Linked DNA regions of Homo sapiens: region 2 is linked to region 1. The links are contacts of gene promoters, found by promoter capture Hi-C in human tissues and cell types (Jung and others, 2019). All regions are on one chromosome and are shown on one strand. Each heading gives the region's core, a stretch centred on a gene start or on the middle of the fragment in contact. The rest is flanking DNA. Distances are from core to core; before and after follow the strand shown. Region 1 holds the start of MCU (mitochondrial calcium uniporter). Region 2 overlaps MCU (mitochondrial calcium uniporter).

Region 1 (4,146 bases), core at 224-2,723:
CATTTCAGTCAAACTTTAAAGAATATTCTTAGAATAAGTGATAACATTTTCTTCGTATTTATGTGTGTGTTTTGTTTTTGTTTTAAATTTATCATCTAAGGCTACACTACAAAGATGTTTTCCAAAATTTAAAATAATGCTTGTATTTGCTTCCCAAACTATTTTCCTGCTCCAGATTTTAAAAAGAGGTGTGAGAATTTAATCAGCTCATAATAATAAACAGCTAGCAAGGAAATACTCTTCTAAGGAAATTCAGGACCCAAAATCTTTCTTAGGCAGTATTCAAGGAGCCCTCATTGTGAGTTTAAGTGGAAAGAAGTGTTTTTCAAGAGAAAGTGTTTGTTATTCCAAAGCGTATTCTGATAACTATTTCGGCAAAATTATGAAGCATCATTAAAATAGCCTTTTACATGAATTTTTTTTTTTTTTTTTGAGATGGAGTCTTGCTGTGTCGCCCAGGCTGGAGTGCAATGGCCCGATCTCGGTTCACTGCAAGCTCCGTCTCCCGGGTTCACACCATTCTCCTGCCTCAGCCTCCGGAATAGCTGGGACTATAAGCGCCCGCCACCACGCCTGGCTAATTTTTTGTATTTTTAGTACAGATGGGGTTTCACCGTGTTAGCCAGGATGGTCTCGATCTCCTGACCTCGTGATCCGCCCGCCTCTGCCTCCCAAAGTGCTGGGATTACAGGCGTGAGCCACCGCGCCCGGCCTTACATGATTTTTTATTACGTTATTAATGTGTTCTGTTTCTGTAAATGCACACAAAGTCAAATATGATAAAATAGTGCTGTTTCTGGAGAGTGTGAGAATATCCGTATAAAGGTGCTGTAAAAATGAATTGGGTATTTGAGATGTATACACGTCAGTTAATTCACTCTGAAGGCATGTACTCATTCTGGGACTTTGATATTGTAATCGTTCTACCTCTCCTATATTATGCTACGCATCACAGTCATTAGATCACTCCGTGATGTAGAGTTAATTTCAGCATATCTAAATATTATCAGTTATGAATGATAATTCTAGGCGTGTAGTTGAGAGTTACAGCATACACCGTTAATGGTTATTAATTTGGTGCCTATTTTGCCAACTTAGAACACTCACTTAGAACTCAACTTCGAACAAAGCTTTTCACAAATATCTATATCCCCCGTTACTCTTATCATAGCTCTATTGTTGGTGAAGATTAGCCGAACTGAACATGCCATCTCTATTGCTGTTATTTTCACGGGTTTGGGTGTCAATTATGGGTTCCCTAGAATTTGCCCGTAATTGACTATGTCCCACTATAGGTAACTCTGGAAGGGACTGGCAGCTTCCAGTGTGGTTCTCCCGCCTGTCGATTGGACCTTGCAGGAAGCCCCGCCTCATCAACTCAGTCAAGGGCTTTAGTTGGCCCGGCGTCGGTGAGTGGCGGGTCTTAGCTCCGCCCTGGCCGTCCGCTGCGCTGCCTGGGTCGGCGCCGTTTCCAGTTGAGAGATGGCGGCCGCCGCAGGTAGATCGCTCCTGCTGCTCCTCTCCTCTCGGGGCGGCGGCGGCGGGGGCGCCGGCGGCTGCGGGGCGCTGACTGCCGGCTGCTTCCCTGGGCTGGGCGTCAGCCGCCACCGGCAGCAGCAGCACCACCGGACGGTGAGCGAGCGCGCCCGGAGGCTCCGGGGAGGGCGGGGCGGCGCTGGCGTGTGGGAGCCGCCGGCGGGCAGGCCGCCGGGGCAGCAGGCGAGTTACCTCAACTCCCGGCCGCTCCGGAGGTTGCCGGGCACCGAGGAGCCGCCGTGCCCTTCAGGCGCCTGCGGCGGCGACCAGGAAGGGAGGGCGGGCGGGAGGAAGCCGAGAGGAGGAGGAGGGGCGACGGCGGGGATGTTCCCGCAGGACTGGGGACACCAGGGCGGGGAAGGCACGGGACTTGAACCTCTCCCCGACTCGCCCCCAATCGCGTTCCCTCCCTTCTTCGTTCTTAACAGCCCTGCCCCAAGGCTCCCTGAACGGAGCCAGATGGAAGTTGTCCCCTTTCCCTCCTCCTCCGGGCGGGTTGGGGAGTTCTGAGTTGCCGCGGCCGCCTTGTGTGTGCCAGGAGAGTGGCAGTGCCATGCTGCTGGGAGCTGCCCCGGAGAGCAGCCCAGGACCCCGGCGGGGCCGCCCCTCGTCCTCTCTCGTCCCCGAGGGGTCGGGCAGGAAGGAAAATCAAACTTTATTCCCCTCTGTGACTTCCTCTGTGTGTGTGCATGGGGAACCGGCTCCCTCGAGATGGATGCTGCATTGCTTCAGGAGGCAAGCTTCATCCTCTTGGGTCCTTAAAGGTGCTTTTGGGGGTCCTTTCGAGGGCTACTGTATAAGCGTGTTCACGCGTGCCTGAAGCGGGAAGGGTGGTCAGCAGGCACAGGAGAAGCGAATATGGTAAGTTGTTGACAGAGGCAGAGATTTGGTGGTTGTATTAACCAGTTGTTGCTGGGTTTCATTGGCTGGCAGAAAAAGAGGATTTCTGTTTGAACACTCTTGGGTGAGTGTGTGTGTGTGTGTGTGTGTGTGTGAGAGAGAGAGAGACAGAGTGTGAGAGAGATTTCTTTTTTCAATTGCAAGAGATGAATTTGGCATGGAGTTCTTAACCTAACAAGTCAGGAGGTTTCCTTCCCTTGGACTTTCTAGACCTATATGTGTTGGTCTCTGGCCAGCTCTGAGGGAAAGAATGTAGGTTTTATTTGCTGGGGCTGAGTTGTATAGTGTGATTATTGGAGGATCACTGCAAACAGCTTGATAGGAGAAACTACAATAGTACCTTCAACCCTCAATAAACACATCGCCTGCCTTGTTCTGATCATAACTCTTAAGAGGAAACTGAACTGGAGCTCTTCGGAGAGGATACTCCTAAGGCCAATGACAGCATCAAAATCGAGTGCCTGAAAGATCTATGAAAAGACCTAATGCTCTGCAAAAGCAAGGTTGTATTGTTATTATTAGTCATAGGTATGGACCCTATCCTCATTCTTGTGAGAAGATTGTACCTCTTTTTATTTGGCATACTGGCATATTGCTTTGCTGAAGCTTTTGGGTGACAGCCAAGAGCTTTTCCACAGTTCAATTTAATTTGCATGTTTCATAGCCTCTAGTTATGTGTTTTGTTCTCTTAAAAACATAAGGCCACCCCAAATTTTGATTGCATTCCCCTTTCCGTCGAACTACTTAAAGGCTTCCCAAGTTGTCCTTAAGTCCATATTTTGATAAGACATCTTCTGACTTTGCACAGTTTTTAAGACTGTTTGGGTGTGATATTCATTTAGCATTTTAAAAAATTTGTGCCTTGTATATTTTCCACTATGCAAATTTGTCAGGCTGTGAGTGTCTCCCTTGTGGGGATACTTCACGAAGGTGTTCTCTGTGCTATTCTAGGGTGGGTAAAAATGAAGTGCTGAATTTGTAACTGAAAGCACAATTAAAACGAAGTGTTATTTCTAAAGGGCAGGAATGTTATGGGAATGGTGACTTGTACATGAATTTAGAATTGTAAGATTTTGAAAAAAATTGAACCTGATTATTTAAAGTGTATAAACATTTTATTTTTCTACAATTCTTCTGAAGCCATCATGTATACAGCTGTTTCCATAGGATAGTCTGTGATTCTTTACAAGAAATTCCATTTAAAAGATATTGAGGCCCTAAAAAGAGAGAGACTTGGCCAAGGTTACGTTAGCTAATACGTAAGTTTTAGGACTCCCACTCATCTGAGATATTCTCACCTCTTATTGTGTTCTTTTCATTGTAAAGTGCAAATGCTCCTTTACATCTCTCTCCTCCCTTATAAAATTTACTATTGTCCATTATGAAAGTATTGCTATTTCAAAACCCCATGAATGGGAATTCTCCTGTAAGTAGGTGTTGATTTGAGTACATATATTAGGTGAATATGGGAGCAAACAACTTACCAGAAAGAATAGATGTTCTGGTAAAGGTCCCTGAGAGACACTAAGGTTGAATCTTGCTTGGGAGACATCCTGTGTATGTGCAGCAGATGGCAGTCTGCATTGGAATGGATCACAAGTCCAGTTTGTGCCACTTTTGTTCCGCTGTATGGTATGGTAAATTACAACCAGGGGGGCATAACCAGTTACAGCACTGCCTAATTTTTTAAGTGAGAAATTCATCTTTTCC
Region 2 (4,438 bases), core at 764-3,263, 93 kb after region 1:
TGAGGCTTAAATATGAGAGCTTATATTTAAGCTTCCTATAGGAAAATGCGAAGGGAGTTTCTGGCCATGGAAAAAGGAAATAACTCAGTTTGTTTGAAGTATTTGTGGAATGCACTTTAAGCATAATCAATATTCACCCTAAGTACTTCATTGAATAGTTTGAATGAAACCACCGCATTGTGTGTGCTCCACCTTGGTAGAGAATGTCAATGTGTAGACTTTTCAAATTAGATTTTATCATCTGGCATAGGCATACCACCTAGTTACATTATATGTAGAGCCTCCAGATACTTTAAAATAGATTATGTTTTACATTCCTTCCTATCCTTTCAGAACCATCACCTTCATGTCCAAAACAGTGTGATGCTATTCATTTTAGAATATTATTGAGGACATCACACTGGTGGCTCTTTGAAGGGATGTGTTTTGGACTCAGGTGTGGAACTGCCACATGCCACTTATTCAACTCTTTGGCATCTAGGAGGCTTTGCATATGCCATGTGCCACTTATTCAACTCTTTGGCATCTAGGAGGCTTTGCATATGCCATGTGAATCCTCTCTTCCTAGGAGAGTTTACTTAGTGGAGCAGTGTTGGGATTTCTAGCCTGGTTTCTTCTGAGGAAAAAAACATGTCAAGTTAAACCTTCCAGGATAAAGAGAGGATTTTGTTGGGGGGAGCTGTTGTATCTGAAGTGTTAATATAGAGCAAATGCAGTTTATTTTCTCAAAGGAAGGGAGAGAGATCATGCCAAGAAAAACGCATAGAGTGGGGTGGAGTGGAGTTGGGAAAGAAAATGTGACAAGTACCTAAAATCAAATGCCTATAGGAAGGATTTTCCCCATGATTAGCTCCAAATGTTGGGGAGTGGGGAGGATGTTGCTTGTTTCTTTCTTTATTTCTTTTTAAAAAATTGTTTTACTTTGTTCTTGACTCTTTAGTTTCAAAAGCAGATTAAGGAAAAGCTTATTAGGAAGTCTAGAGCCATAGGCACTATAGAAATTACCAGCCCCCAAAAGTCAATACCCAGTTACTTTACCTTTTTGGCTGTTCCACGTAATTAACCCTGCTGCTTGATCCAAGTGAAGCCGGGGGAAAGCCGGGCACCGTTGGATGGTGTAGCTCCTTGCTTAACCCCTCATGTTGTACTGCAAAGATGAATGCCCACTTACCTGGATCTCTCAGGGGATGACATTTTCCAAAAGAAGATTTTCTTCTGCTCCCTCTTGAGAACAATATAAAGAGTATGTAATTCAGAGAGATTACTTTGAATTTCACTAAAAGGGAAGTACAAAGGCTTTGTTTTTTCAGATCCTATCAAATTAATACTGTCACGTTTGGAAAATGTTGCTCTGTTTTGATAGATCTCTTAGAAGGATGTGTCTTATGCAAATAGTAATTGTGATTTTTAAAGCTAATATAAATGTGATTCATTTACTTAAAATCAAGCCACCTTGTAGCTGTGAGTAATTTTCCCATTTTGTTGAAGGTAAGTACAATTTTTAATTGGCTACATTTGGTTGCAGGAGAGGTTAAAGAATAGATTTAAGTAGGCATGTCTGAAAAGGACAGAAAGTTCCACAAAGCAGTTGTCAGCAGGGATTAGATCTCTGGATGTCCTTGTTTGTCAGGAAAAGCCTTCTGTGTATCCAGTAGCTTCTGAAAATGTTAATGTGGCACTGTGCAGGGAGTCAAGGGAACAGTCTCCTCATTTTCAGTGCAGGATGCTAGGGAAAGCCTGTCCGTATGTGTGCGTGGGTGTGTGAGTGAGGGCTGGCTGTGCACCCTGCCTCTCTGGCTGAAGTAAGTTGCAGAGCAGCTTTGCCTTTTCATGGGCTTGGGTGTGGGGAATCCCTCCTACCAAGAGTATTTTGGGAAATTCCTAAATGCTGATGTGTTCTCAGCTCTATATAATGCCCTTGTTGGAGTGAGGAGCAAAACACACATGGATAATGATTTTAAAGCACCAGTCAACCAATTCCTGGTGTGTGTGTCTTTTACTTGCTTGATAGAGCTGTTCAAGGAGAATCTTGCGTTGTCAAGGATTTTAGGCTTCTACATAGTACAGGGATTGCTCTTCTTTTCCTTTTCCAGGGCTCTTCCTGTCTCTAGATATTTAGCATACAGATGCAGTTTCATGATGTAGCACGAGAATCTCCCACATTTCCACATATATTACACAGTCGGCGAAGCAAGTGGTAGTGGTGGCTGCTCCAGCCAAACCTGGCAGTGCTACTGCCGTCACTTTTCTAATAACCTTGGTGTCTCTGCAACAAGGTTAGTGGTGGTGTTTACCAAAGCTACAACTTTGTTTCTCCTTTCTCTTTCCCTGCTTCTGTTGTCTCCCTGTCTCCCCTCCTGCTGCCCCCTACCACTTAGGTTAATGAACTTCCCTGTGGTATGCAGAAACTAGTCAGACATGCATCTTTAAAACACATTTTAGAGTTTTCAAAAATGTGCATAATAGAAATATATCCTAAAGTTCAAAAACATTCTGAGATTGTCACAGTTAGTGGCAGATTAAGGAAACAGAATATAAAATAGCCAAATATATTCCAGGAAGTCATGCTTGTTGAGTAGGCATTTATCTGACAGATTGAAATGAGCTTCTTTTGTGTGTTGGCTCATAGTCCAGAATTGCAAGTTTTTCACTTTTAGTGTTTATGTAAAATTCTCCTGCTGGCTCATTTCATGGAAATAAAGGCTCACTTCATCTGTAACTTGTATCTGTAGTAAGACCCTTACAAGGGCTGCAATTTTCATCTTGGTTTAATTTGCAAGAAAAACATTATTATGTACGTATAGCTACTTGTTTTAATTTAGTGTCAATTGTCAATGTCGTAGTAGAAATGGATGAAGAAAATCCTTTTGGAAAGGAGATTTTTATAGAAATCAAAGGAGTATTGCCCAGCAACTCTTAATAGGTGTTTACTGAATATATACTATGGGAATGTATTGCACGCTTTAGAGATTCTAAAGAATAACATATCCTTGCCTACAAGGTGTTGCTTACCAATTTGAGGAGATGAAGATTGTCCGTAGAATAGGGACTGAACAAGCACTGTGTGAAAAAACGGTATTATGCTGTGCAATAAAATTTCAAGAATAGGATAATACATAAAGGAACGATTTGCTGTGGAGATCATTTCATTATATGTGAGATTGATGTCCAGAGATGTCATCCAGTTTAGTTAATGTAGTTCTGGCTAGCTGTTTGTGGAATTCTGGCTAGTTTGTTTTTTTAATGTCCTTATCCTGTTTCTTGTGTTATACTTGAACACATCAACATAGAGTGAGAAGTTACTGTTTTTGTTACCTAAAAATGAGTCACATAGTAAAAAGAGATGGGTTGAGAATCAGATATATTTGATTTCAGATCCTGGCTGTGCTCATTCTTAGCTCTGTGTGCTCTGTGTGCCTCAGTTTTCTCATTGGAAGAACTGGAATGTAAGTTACTAATTTACAGATTTGTTGGGATTAAATTATTTTGAAGCATGGCTGGGTGCCATGGCTCTTTCCTATAACCCCAGCACTTTGGGAGGCTGAGGCGGGCAGATCACGTGGAGGTCAGGAGTTCGAGACCAGACTGGTCAACATGGCGAAACCCCGTCTCTACCAAAAATACAAAAATTAGCAGGGCGTGGTGGCAGGCGCCTGTAATCCCAGCTACTCGGGAGATTGAGGCAGGAGAATCGCTTGAACCCAGCAGGTGGAGGTTGCAATGAGCCGAGATTGTGCCACTTCACTCCAACCTGGGCAACAGAGCGAGACAATGTCTCAAAATAAATAAATAAGTAAAAATAAATAAATAAAGTATTTTGAAGCACAAAAGCACTGCTTTTTCAGTTTTCTCACTAAATTTAATCCTCCTGGAAACATGCCATCACTGGTAGAATATTAGGTATTTAGGTTATTTCCCATAGCACTTGTTCTTACACAAATCACCAAATGTGTGCTTTTCCACTCTCTCTTATGAATCCTTACATCCCCAATGTCAAATAGCAAAATAGCAAAGAAAATTTATATATGGAGAGAGAGGGGTTTTTCAAGGACCATATTTTAATCTCACGCTTAAAGGGTAAATTTCTATCCATTTAATAATGTAATAAAAATTATTTTCATGTTAAGCTAAACAAAACATGATTTGAAAGACAAATCTGCTGCATCTTACAAAATAACATGTCCTTCTAAACCCAGCTGAAGTCCTATCTCCACGAAGCCTTCTCTGGCCACTCCCGCCCACGGTAATTTTTTCTCATTGAAAATTCAGTTTCTTTTGGTTATACAAGTTTCACTGAGTTTTTGTTTCGTTTGTTTTTTGAGACAGAATCTCGCTCTGTCGCCCAGGCTGGAGTGGAGTGGCGCAATCCCAGCTCACTGCAACCTCCGCCTCCCGGCTTCAAGCAGTTCTCCTGCCTCAGCCTCGAGAGTAGCTGGGA

The links. Contacts are between HindIII fragments. The study calls those that stand out against the background at their distance.
Region 2: a fragment that was not itself captured here is called in contact with the fragment with the promoter of MCU in region 1 in 4 of the 25 tissues and cell types used here (aorta, dorsolateral prefrontal cortex, heart left ventricle and 1 more).

What each region holds. Positions count from the first base shown.
Region 1 is chr10:72,690,670-72,694,815 of GRCh38, forward strand. It overlaps MCU (mitochondrial calcium uniporter), which reads left to right and starts at 1,474. Exons shown (of 8, transcript NM_138357.3): 1 at 1,474-1,632. The coding sequence starts at 1,483. RefSeq lists enhancers at 1,092-1,151, 2,822-2,911 and silencers at 1,352-1,811, 1,902-1,951, 1,972-2,061. The HindIII fragment of the contact is 2,893 bases long and covers 1-2,659 here.
Region 2 is chr10:72,782,968-72,787,405 of GRCh38, forward strand. The region is part of intron 1 of MCU (mitochondrial calcium uniporter); the gene reads left to right. Among named protein-coding and RNA genes, the nearest start is that of MIR4676, 64 kb to the left of the region's middle. RefSeq lists a silencer at 404-698. The HindIII fragment of the contact is 4,735 bases long and covers 1-4,381 here.